3 separate regions of the Homo sapiens genome follow, and all the other regions are linked to region 2. The links are contacts of gene promoters, found by promoter capture Hi-C in blood cells and fetal thymus (Javierre and others, 2016). All regions are on one chromosome and are shown on one strand. Each heading gives the region's core, a stretch centred on a gene start or on the middle of the fragment in contact. The rest is flanking DNA. Distances are from core to core; before and after follow the strand shown.

Region 1 (3,264 bases), core at 206-2,705, 640 kb before region 2:
ATATAAGTGAAAACATGCAGTATTTGCCTTTCTGTGCCTGGCTTATTTCACTTAGCAAATATTCTTCAATTCCATTCATGTTGTCACAAGTGATAGAATTTCTTTCTTTTTAAAGGATGAATAGTATTCCATTGTATGTATACACTAAATTTTTTTTATCCATTCATCTGTTGATAAACAGGTTAATTCCATAACTTGGCTAATGTGCCTAGTGCTGCAATGAACATGGGAGTGCAGATATCTTTTTGACAGACTGATTCCAATATTTTGAGTAAATACCCAGAAGTGGAATTGCTAGATCATATGGTAATTCTACTTTAACTTTTTGGAGGAATCTTCATGCTGTTTTCCATAATGGCTGTACTAATTTACATTCTAGAAGTGGGCACTTTCTGAACTTGTCTTTGAATTCTGGGGTTAAACAGTATTTGGTTCTCAGGTTCCTAAGTATTAGTATTTGTTTTATTTTCCCCAGTCTTTCCCACTCATATCCCAACCCCAGCATACACACACAAGCAGTGTGTGTATGAGCATGTCTATGAGCACACACATGCACACAGACAGGCAATTAAGAAATAGTGAGATTGTACTGACAGATCCATGAAGGTCAGAAAGTTTTGCCTCAAATTCTTGCCCCATCACTGACTTAATGTCTGACATCAGACAAGTAATTTCACCCTCTCTCTGTGCTTTCGTTTGTCCACATAGAGGCCTCATCTGACTTGTGGTTATCAGGAAGCTCATTAATCTCACAAGCTTCAAATTTCCCAATAGTTGCTTTTTGGCCTCTAGATCTGCCTTTTGACTCCAGTGTGTTGGAGAAGCTTTGTGGTATGGAAGGAAGAGCATTTAAAATTTGGTGTCTAGTAGAGCTGGTTTCAAGTCCCAGCTGTGCCTATTTATTGACAAGTCATTTAATCTCCAGGAATCTCAGTGTCCCCATTCGCAGAATGAGATTAATAATTAACCTACATTCCAGATTTTTGTGAGGATTAAATAAGATAGGAGATACCAAAATGTCTCATAAGCATCATGCCAAAGTAAGATGCTCTTATATGGGGGATCTCTAGGACTGCTTGGGGATTGATATTGGGTCAAAGAGTTTGGTTCAGGCTTTAGTTGTTGCCATACTTGTTTTCTCTCTTTTTCTCCCTTTAGCAAAATTGTGGAAGTCAGGTAGGTAAACAGAGAACTGGGATTCTAAGAATTCTTTTGGATGGACTCCAAAACCTCAGAGAGCCCCTGGAGCTCCCCTGCATACTCTTTGATTTGGAAGCTTGCCTGAGTCCATAACACTTCTATCCTCTTTTGCAACCATTAGTTTTGGCATCCCAGTGTGTCCTAAGACCCACCCAAATCTTTGGACAATCCCTCTACAAAGCTCCCTTGGGGATTGGCATGCTGTTCTGTTAGCCTCTAGATCTCAAGACAAACAGTCAAATATGGCTGAGGGTGGGGGGCCCTTGAGTTTGAACTTTAATAGCATGTTTTTCCAAAATAAGATCCAGTGGTGTCTTGAGTATTCCAAGTGCACAAGGGCTGAGAGTTTCAATTAATGAAACAGTCTGATTATTTACTGGGCAACTGTCTGTATAAGACACTACACTAGGTACTGTGTAAAAAGAAAAAGCTTTGGAATCAGAGGAGTTGGGCTTCATGTGTTTAGAACCTATAACATGGCCTAATGGTTGTGTTTAACTGTACTGTGAGTTCCTTAAGGATGGAACCATCTCTGTATTCCCAGCCCTAGTACAGGAGGAGTGGAATAAATGAAAGAATGAGTGATGGAATATATTTTCAAGTTGCTTACCTCTTCTGAAAACAGAGTGGGCTCAAATAGTCCAATTATTTGAACTATTTGAGGCTTAGGGAGAGTCTGATGCCAGTTAATGGAGGTTGGACTATAGTGGTATGCTCTTTCTACTTGCCTCATAGAAGGCTTGTTCAAGCCTTGAATCAAATATTTGCAAAATGCTTTGAGATTCTCCAATTAAATGTGCTAATTATTATGGTTTTTGTCATTATTGTTAAGGGATAAATATATGTGATATAAAATAGGGAACAGTGGACTTGATATTTAAAGGGGTAAATCTAATTGGAATTTCTAAGTTAAACAATTCAGAACTGCTCCAAATGAGAGCTGCTGTGAGTGAGACCATATTTCAGATTAATGAGTTGGAAACACATCCCATTACTTTTCTCAGTCTTGGTAAACACATTTTTTTCTTATGGATTAGAGGAAATGAGAGAACAGATGAAAGAGAATTGAAAGGAGGAGAGAGAAGCACATTGAGAGGAAAGTTTACTGGAAAGAGAGAAAGGCAGAACAGAGGCAGAAAATTTGACTCCTCTGAGGTCATCACTCAGGCCCTGGGGTGACTAGCTTGAGTTTACACTCCTTTTCTCTTCTGAGACTTGTGGTTCTTGACAACCAAGTAACTGACCTATAGATGGAGGCCAACCTGGAGTCTTACCCTACCTGTAAGAGTCCCTTGGCTGGAAGAAAAGAACACTGCACAAATGTAGACCTCTCAAAATAGCCAGGATAATTTAGGCTTAAAATTTAACAGCCTGTTTTCCATTTCTACTCTCTTTTTGGGTTTGGTGAGAGCCATTGAATGAGACGGTAAGCGGGTAGGTAGAATCTGAATATATGTACTCTAGATACAGAAGACAATGGCTTACCTAATGCCAAAAGATCAGGGCACAAATGATAAGCAAAATCTTCAACTGAGCATCCAGACATTTGGTTGCTGTCAAGCCAAACATCCACACATTCCCAATGATGAAGCTGTATGGTGGCGGTAGACAAAACATCTGGATGACAGCTTGATATAGTGTTCACTTTTCATCTGGCTGCTCTGGCTCAGCCCCGTAGGGAGGAAGACTCCAGGGAGTGGTGAGGCAATTTCTGAGCCAACCTGAATGCTTATATTCTTTTGGAAAATTGATTATAGCAGGCTTAAGATTTTTTATGTTTTCTATAATAAGGGCAAAGGCACAGAGGAAACCTTCTGGCTGATTGGGAAAAAAGGCTTCATGAAGCCCCTTCCTGTGCCCCCACCAGTGGACAAAGATGGGTAAGTGGAGTTCACATTTAATTGGAGTCTTCCTATGCCATACTCTGCCACACTTTCTTCACTACCTATTTGATGTCTCCCCTGCCCTGCAGGCAAGTGGGCCATGGCCTGCAACCAGTGGAGATTGCAGCCTTCCAAAGAAGAAAAGCAGAAAGGCAGTTGGTGAGAAACAAGCCATAAGGTA
Region 2 (3,503 bases), core at 1,004-3,503:
ATGTAAAAACTATATGTACAGGAAAAAGGACATGAGGATTTAAAAATCTCCAGTATTTTCCCATTTCATTTAATATTCATTTTGATATTTTCAATGTCATGTTATTACTCAAAGCACTTTCAAATATGTTGCCTTATTTGTCACATTTCTCTTTAAAAAAAAAAAGAAAAAAACCTTGTGCTTGGAAAGACTTATAAAATATCCTAATGACTATCAAACAAAATCCCAAATGAGAGCATTTGTTATCATTTTGGTTGTAAGTGCAGGGAATCTTGTATATATGTGACTACGCAGCTGAAATATGTAGCAGTCACAGTCAGGGATCTCTCAGCATCCACACTCGTTCTGCCTCTAGCTCCCTTCCGAAACCACGGCTGCTTCCAGCACCTGTGAATATATTGCACTTATAAACCATTGGCAGCAGAGGGAATGTTATTGAATATTTGTAATATCTGGGGGACAACCCAAACCAATTTCTTTTTCTCTTAAATTATAGCATCAAAAAGGAGCCATTTATTCAAATACGTGTGTTCTGTTTCTAACAGAGCAAATTCTTAAGAGGGCAGAAATATGGTTTATTTTTATGATATACATATTGCCTAGTTTACTGTTGGATTTTATAAATAGTACCCTTTGCCATATCAACCCTAGAGCAAGGGTGAACTGACATTCCATTCTTTCAGAGAGAAATGCTGTATTTCTCTCCTCCTCTCCCTCCATTCCTCTTTGCAAACCTGGTCACTCCTTTGATAATTCACGACCCATCTCCACCATTAAGAGTCTAAAATCCTAGTCAAGTAATAACTGGGGTGGTGGGGGAGAGAGGGAGAGGGAGAGGGAAAGGGAGAAGGAGAGGGAGAGAGAGAGAGAGACTTGAGGAGGTTGCACTTACACTCCGGCAGTTTTTCCAGAAATGAGGGAGGCAGTAGTTCTTACTTTTGTGATGTCAACTTGTAGACTGAAATGCATCAAAGCTCCTCTTCTTCTTCTTGTTGACGCGAGGGATGTGAAATGTGCTCTAGAATATGCATTCAGCGTGGTCCTTTGTTCTAGGTATGAGCTTTTCTTTTTCTAAAGTTTTTCGGTCTCGCTCAAGGAAAGGAAAGCAATATTTTGAGATTCTTTTAAAGGCACCTTCCAAAGCATTTCCCACAGAAAAATACCTTCACAGCCCAACACTGGTTATTTCAGTAAGAATCGAGTCCAATTTTTTCCAATATGGCTGTATACATTGCAGGCCCCCAAATTTGTGCTTTCATAGTCATCGTTAATCAAATAGGCAGAAACACTGTATTTAGGGAACCTGTGTTTCGTGGGCTAGAAGTGCATTCTGATTAATAAAGATCATGTTCATTTTGAATGCATCGCTGTTATTCGTGTGCCTCAGAGTCGCGGGCTTCTGTCAGGGGTGCAGCGGGCTCGGGAGTGCCTGCAGAGCGGTGGGAAGCAGTTCTGAGCGCCCTGGTCGTCAACCCGTTTTCAGGGGGTGCCGACACTTTCTCCCAAGAAGCTCGATCCGCCGCCTTGTGCGGCTGGAAAGAATGAACCAGACTGTGACAGGAACAGAGAATTTATGTGATTGACAGGGAGTACCAGGGCACCCGACTCCATCCCGGGTCACCACGGCTCTGGGATTTGCACGAGTTTACCACCACCATTAACAGCTATTTGCGTAAGGTTGTTTACCGCCTGAGAGCGCCACAAGCCGACAGCGAAGCCACTTTGGGACCCCAGCCACGCCCCCTCTCCCCTCTCCCCTCTCACCCCTCCCTCCCGCCAAACTAATGATTTCGGGGCTGCCTTCTTGCCGGACCCTCCCATTGGCTCCTATCCCAACCAATCAGAGCCTTGCAACAGTTTCACCTGGCTCCCGCTTCCCAAATAAACAAACAAACTGTCCCGCGACTGTGCCCGCTCTGCACCCTGGCGCCGCAGGCAGGCACTGCTTGCGCTACGCCCCCTCCCACCACCTCCCACCAATGGGGCCCCGACTGTGGCGCCCTCTCCCGACCCTGATAGCCGGCCGCTTTCTCCTCCGCCCCTCCAGGCCTTCTCCCGCCCCCTCATGCCTTCCTGGACTCCCTGTTAGAATCAGCTTGGCCAGAGAGCCCGCCTCCTCCTCTCGGTCCTCCCTTGGCCCACAGGCCTGGAGATTGACCGGGAGGATTTGGCACAGCCGGAGGTGGCTCCGCCTCCCGAGCCCGCCGTCTCCTCCCTTGCTCACCTCTACTGGTGGCCGCTCGCGCCCCTCCATTGCGCCGGTAGCAGGATCCGCAGCGGCCGCCGCGTGAGGCTGTGGTCACGTGTTGTTTTGCCCGCTGTCGTGCGCTCAGAGTGGAGTGGGCGGGGGCGCGGGCCAAGGCAGGAGGGGGCTGGGGCGGGCAGACGAGGGTAGACAGCCTCTTCCCCCAACCCTCCCTTTCCTGAATTCCCCCTCCTCCTCGCTCACCTTAAAACCATCGTGCATCACCATGGCGAGTTGCTCCTTCACTCGCGACCAAGCGACAAGAAGACTAAGAGGTGCAGCAGCGGCGGCAGCGGCAGCTCTAGCAGCAGTGGTGACCACCCCGCTTCTTTCCTCGGGAACCCCGACCGCACTCATTGGGACCGGGTCGTCTTGTCCGGGAGCCATGTGGCTCTCCACGGCCACTGGCTCCCGGTCAGACTCCGAGTCCGAAGAGGAGGACCTGCCCGTCGGGGAGGAAGTCTGCAAACGCGGCTACCTGCGGAAACAGAAGCATGGGCACAGGCGCTACTTCGTGCTCAAACTCGAGACTGCTGACGCCCCAGCTCGGCTGGAATACTACGAAAATGCCAGGAAGTTCCGGCACAGTGTCCGCGCCGCGGCGGCTGCAGCAGCGGCGGCCGCCTCTGGCGCCGCGATCCCCCCGCTCATTCCACCGCGGCGCGTGATCACCCTATACCAGTGCTTTTCCGTGAGCCAGCGAGCAGATGCAAGGTACCGACACCTCATTGCTCTTTTCACCCAAGACGAATACTTCGCGATGGTGGCCGAGAACGAGTCGGAGCAGGAAAGCTGGTACTTGCTGCTCAGCCGCCTCATCCTCGAGAGCAAGCGCCGCCGCTGCGGCACGCTCGGCGCGCAGCCGGACGGAGAGCCGGCCGCGCTGGCGGCGGCAGCGGCGGCGGAGCCACCCTTCTATAAAGATGTGTGGCAGGTAATAGTCAAACCCAGGGGGCTGGGGCACAGAAAAGAGCTGAGCGGCGTGTTCCGGCTGTGTCTAACCGACGAGGAGGTCGTGTTTGTGAGGCTGAACACCGAAGTGGCCAGCGTGGTCGTCCAGCTCCTGAGCATCCGTCGCTGTGGACACTCGGAGCAGTATTTCTTCTTGGAAGTAGGCAGGTCCACTGTCATCGGTCCGGGAGAGCTCTGGATGCAGGTCGATGACTGTGTGGTTGCCCAAAACATGCATGAGCTGTTTTTGGAGAAGATGAGAGCCTTGTGTGCAGACGAATACAGAGCCCGCTGCCGCAGCTACAGC
Region 3 (3,529 bases), core at 444-2,943, 660 kb before region 2:
TCGAATGGCTTCCCATTGCTCTAAGGATAAAGATCAAATTCCTTTACATGGCTTACGAGCTGAGCCCTGCATGGCCTGGAACTTGCTGACCTCTCATGCTAACCACTACCCCCCTGCTTTATGCTCTGGCCATGCTGAACTGCTTCTAGTTGTTTATTTACATTACACCAGGCTGTCTCTTACTACTAAATCTCCACACAAGCTGTGTCTTCTGCCTGGGACACTCTTCTCTTCCCACTCTTTCATATACTCATCTGGGTCTGGCTAAATTCTATTTCTTCAGGGTTCAACTTAAGTACCACTGCCTCAAGAGGCTTTCCATGACCCCTATGCTGGGCTAGGTTGCCCTCTTTATAATCCTTCAGGGCCCTGAACTTTGTTGTGATACCATAGTTCATTAGCATTACTCATTCAATTAACCTTGTCTCCCCCCACCCAAACTACAAGCTCTGTGGGGGCAGGAAACAGGTTTGCCTTTCTCAGTGCCTTTCACAGTTCCTGACAGAATATTTGTTGAATCAACAAAAGAACAAAATAAAATGAAATAAAGGAACTTGTCTCCCTACCTTAGATATGAGGCTAAATGAATCTCATAATTGAAAGGCCATTGGATGTCATCTGACCCAACTTCCATTTTATAGATAGGGAAGCCAAGGTTCAGAAAGGTAGCTACTTGGTGACCAAGCTAAGATTTTGAACCCGGGTCTCTAGACTTCCAGTTCTGTGTTCTTTTATACTATACCACAGTAGCTCTCCAAAGTCAATTCTATCACCCTAGCAAAGCTCAGAGTTAATAGTGGCTCCAGCAGATAAAAAACAAACCAAAGTAATTTCTCTAGTTTTCCCGAGAGTTCAACTCTAATGGTAGTTAGTGGCTCTTACTTGGTTCTGGAGTGGAGATGAGGAAATGGGGGCGGATTGTAAATGTATTCATTACTGTCCACTCTCGATTATATAAGTATAGTGCAGAAAAGCCTCATTATAGCCATTAACAACATACATGTAAGTGCTCTTTGGAAATACTATTTTGTAATGATTGTATTTAATCACCCAGCTTTTACCAGAGAGTTTTGCCCTCTTTTTCCATCTTGTGCTTTTAAATGTGCAGGGAGAAAGGATGCCAAAAAGAAGCAGCCACATGCCATTTTTCCTGCTCTCAAATATTCATCCTTGCACTCCTCTCCAAAACCATGGTGCCTAAAATCCCGCAACTATAAATGTATTCCTTTGACATTCAATCATTCAAGTATCATTCATTGTTTTCCGTTTGATTTGTAAATATAAATCTTCCTAGGCAGGGAGACATAGGGGCAAAATCACTATAGTGAGTGTTTTGGAGACTTTCATGGGTGTGAGTGAGTGGTGGATGGTGGGTGGAAGCTCAGAGGGGTCTGGTTGGGGGACAAAGCCTGGGGACACTTAAAGAGCAAAGAGAGAAGATGGGTACATGATTGGTGGTGAAACTGGAATTTCTTATTTCACCATTTTGATCAGGATTGGCTGAAAATAAGAATTTCCATGGTGGATTTCTCTTTCCTGGGTTTTGCTAACAAACCAAAATAATCTCTCACCTTTCACCCTTCTTCCTATTTCATAGGACTTTGTTTCTTGGACTCTCTTCCCAATACCCAAAATTTAACAAGATGAAAAGTTAGCCATTACTTTCTCCCTGATACCCTCACTCTTAGCAGACATTTGTCTCCAACCTCACTATCTGGATGTCACCTTGTTGTTTACTCCAACTCCCTCTCATTCTCAAGGCACAGGGAGCCTATCCTTAGCCCTGTCACTTCCTTCTCCATTGTAGCCTTCCAGTGTATCTGGTTGACTGTGTTGCTGCTACTACCCCCACCCCCATTTAGGCCCCTCTCACCTCACTACCTGCTCTTACTGCAATAACTTCCTAGCTGATCTCCCTGATTCCAGCCTCTCTCCTTCAATCCAGCTTGTGCAGGTTGCCAGATTAATCTTCCCAAACAGGGCTTTCATCAAATCCCTCTCCAGCTCCAGCACCCCTACTGCCTTTTGTATTCACTCCAAATGCCTTCATTTGGCTCTCAGGGCCTCTCACCTTCTGCCCCCATTCTTCCAGACACCCGCCCTCCCCCACTTCATCAACCCCACTTCTCATTTCTCATTATTCCTTAACAGAGCCCTTCTCTTCAGTCAAGCTAATCTGCTTACCACCACCCGGCATCCCCCCACCCGCAATTTGCTCCTTTCTGCCTCTTGTTCTTTTGCACATGCTGTTCTTTCTAGGGAGAAAAAAGCCCTTACCTTCTCAGCTCCAGAAAGTTGCATCCTTGACCTTCCTAACAAGCACATTTAAAATTTAACTTTTCCAGGAAGTCTTCCTGGATTAATTTGATCAGCTCAGTTTTTTTTTTAGTTTGAACCTGATGAAATTGCCAATATCTAACTGTTTTTGATTCACAGAAATGGTAACTTTATATAATTCAATCTAAAACACTCTTCTTCCAGCTTTTGAGTACTGTATTTCTATTGTTAAATTATATTTCTTTATACATTGCTTACAGTGCCCCCCACCCAAGAAAAATTTCTGACATTCTCACTGCCATAAACTCTGAATGCAGAAATAATGTTTTGTCCCTGACGGGGCCTGAAATGCAGCAGAGCACACAATGGGTGTTTAACTTTGACCTTTAATGGATTCATTTCCCTTTACTATGTAGTGGCCCTCATCATTCCCTCTCTTTTATTGCAGTTAGGGGTGCATATGTCTGTGTTTCCGACTGGTCTGTGAACTCCTCAAGTTTGATTCATCTCTAGCACCACCTCTGTGCCTAGCACAGGGCATGGTACATAGTAGACCATCAATAAATATTTGCAGAACTGAGTTGAAGGAATTGTTGCACCTTTTTGCACTGCAAGGAATAGGAAGGCTGGGGTAACTCTAATCCTTTTAGAGGAGACCTGGAGAAAGCAACTTGTGAATCTCTTAGCCCCAGCACAATCAAATTACCAGACACATATAGATCTCAGCAAACAGCAAATCCATGGCAACCAGTGTGGTAGCACACTTGCCTTTCCCTGGAAACCTGCCAACTGCTACTTGCAGGCTCAAGAAAGCAAGCACCAGAGAATTTCTATACTTTGAGCTTCTGTGCCCTTTCCCACATCGCTGCTGTGTCTGCCTGCGTGGTCCTGGGGTGGAGAGAGTAGTATGTTTTCTCTGTTCATAATTCCTTAGAAGAATAGATTCAGACCCTGGGGGATGGGGGGCACTAGCATGGCAGTCTGTCTAATAAAAATATAAGGCAGTCAATAAAACAGTACCCTCTGAGCCCTTGAGGGCATTGCAGATATTGTCAGTTAATCCTCCCTGCATTCATTACACAATGCTTTCTTTTTAGAGCTGCTGTGGACGGCCCCTGAACTGTTGAGAGCTCCAAGAGGCAGCAGGTTAGGTTCTTTTGCAGGAGATGTCTATAGCTTTGCCATCATCATGCAAGAAGTGATGGTCCGGGGTACCCCATTCTGCATGATGGATCTGCCAGCTCAAGGTAAG

What was found. Contacts are between HindIII fragments. The CHiCAGO score rates a contact against its expected background, and 5 or more counts as called.
Region 1: a contact is called between a fragment that was not itself captured here and the fragment with the promoter of IRS4 in region 2, in 2 of 17 cell types (endothelial precursors and M2 macrophages). The highest score is 6.6, in endothelial precursors.
Region 3: a contact is called between a fragment that was not itself captured here and the fragment with the promoter of IRS4 in region 2, in 1 of 17 cell types (M2 macrophages). The highest score is 5.9, in M2 macrophages.

Annotation. Positions count from the first base shown.
Region 1 is chrX:109,375,895-109,379,158 of GRCh38, reverse strand. It overlaps GUCY2F (guanylate cyclase 2F, retinal), which reads left to right. Exons shown (of 20, transcript NM_001522.3): 18 at 2,992-3,080; 19 at 3,173-3,261. The coding sequence ends at 3,260. Among named protein-coding and RNA genes, the nearest start is that of GUCY2F, 100 kb to the left of the region's middle. The HindIII fragment of the contact is 354 bases long and covers 1,279-1,632 here.
Region 2 is chrX:108,735,313-108,738,815 of GRCh38, reverse strand. IRS4 (insulin receptor substrate 4) reads left to right here and starts at 2,253. Exons shown (of 2, transcript NM_001379150.1): 1 at 2,253-3,503. The coding sequence starts at 2,472. It overlaps IRS4-AS1 (IRS4 antisense RNA 1), which reads right to left and starts at 2,276. Exons shown (of 3, transcript NR_110652.1): 1 at 2,225-2,276; 2 at 937-1,551; 3 at 1-387. The HindIII fragment of the contact is 14,686 bases long and covers 1-3,503 here.
Region 3 is chrX:109,398,544-109,402,072 of GRCh38, reverse strand. GUCY2F (guanylate cyclase 2F, retinal) reads left to right here. Exons shown (of 20, transcript NM_001522.3): 11 at 3,375-3,524. Among named protein-coding and RNA genes, the nearest start is that of GUCY2F, 82 kb to the left of the region's middle. The HindIII fragment of the contact is 7,530 bases long and covers 1-3,529 here.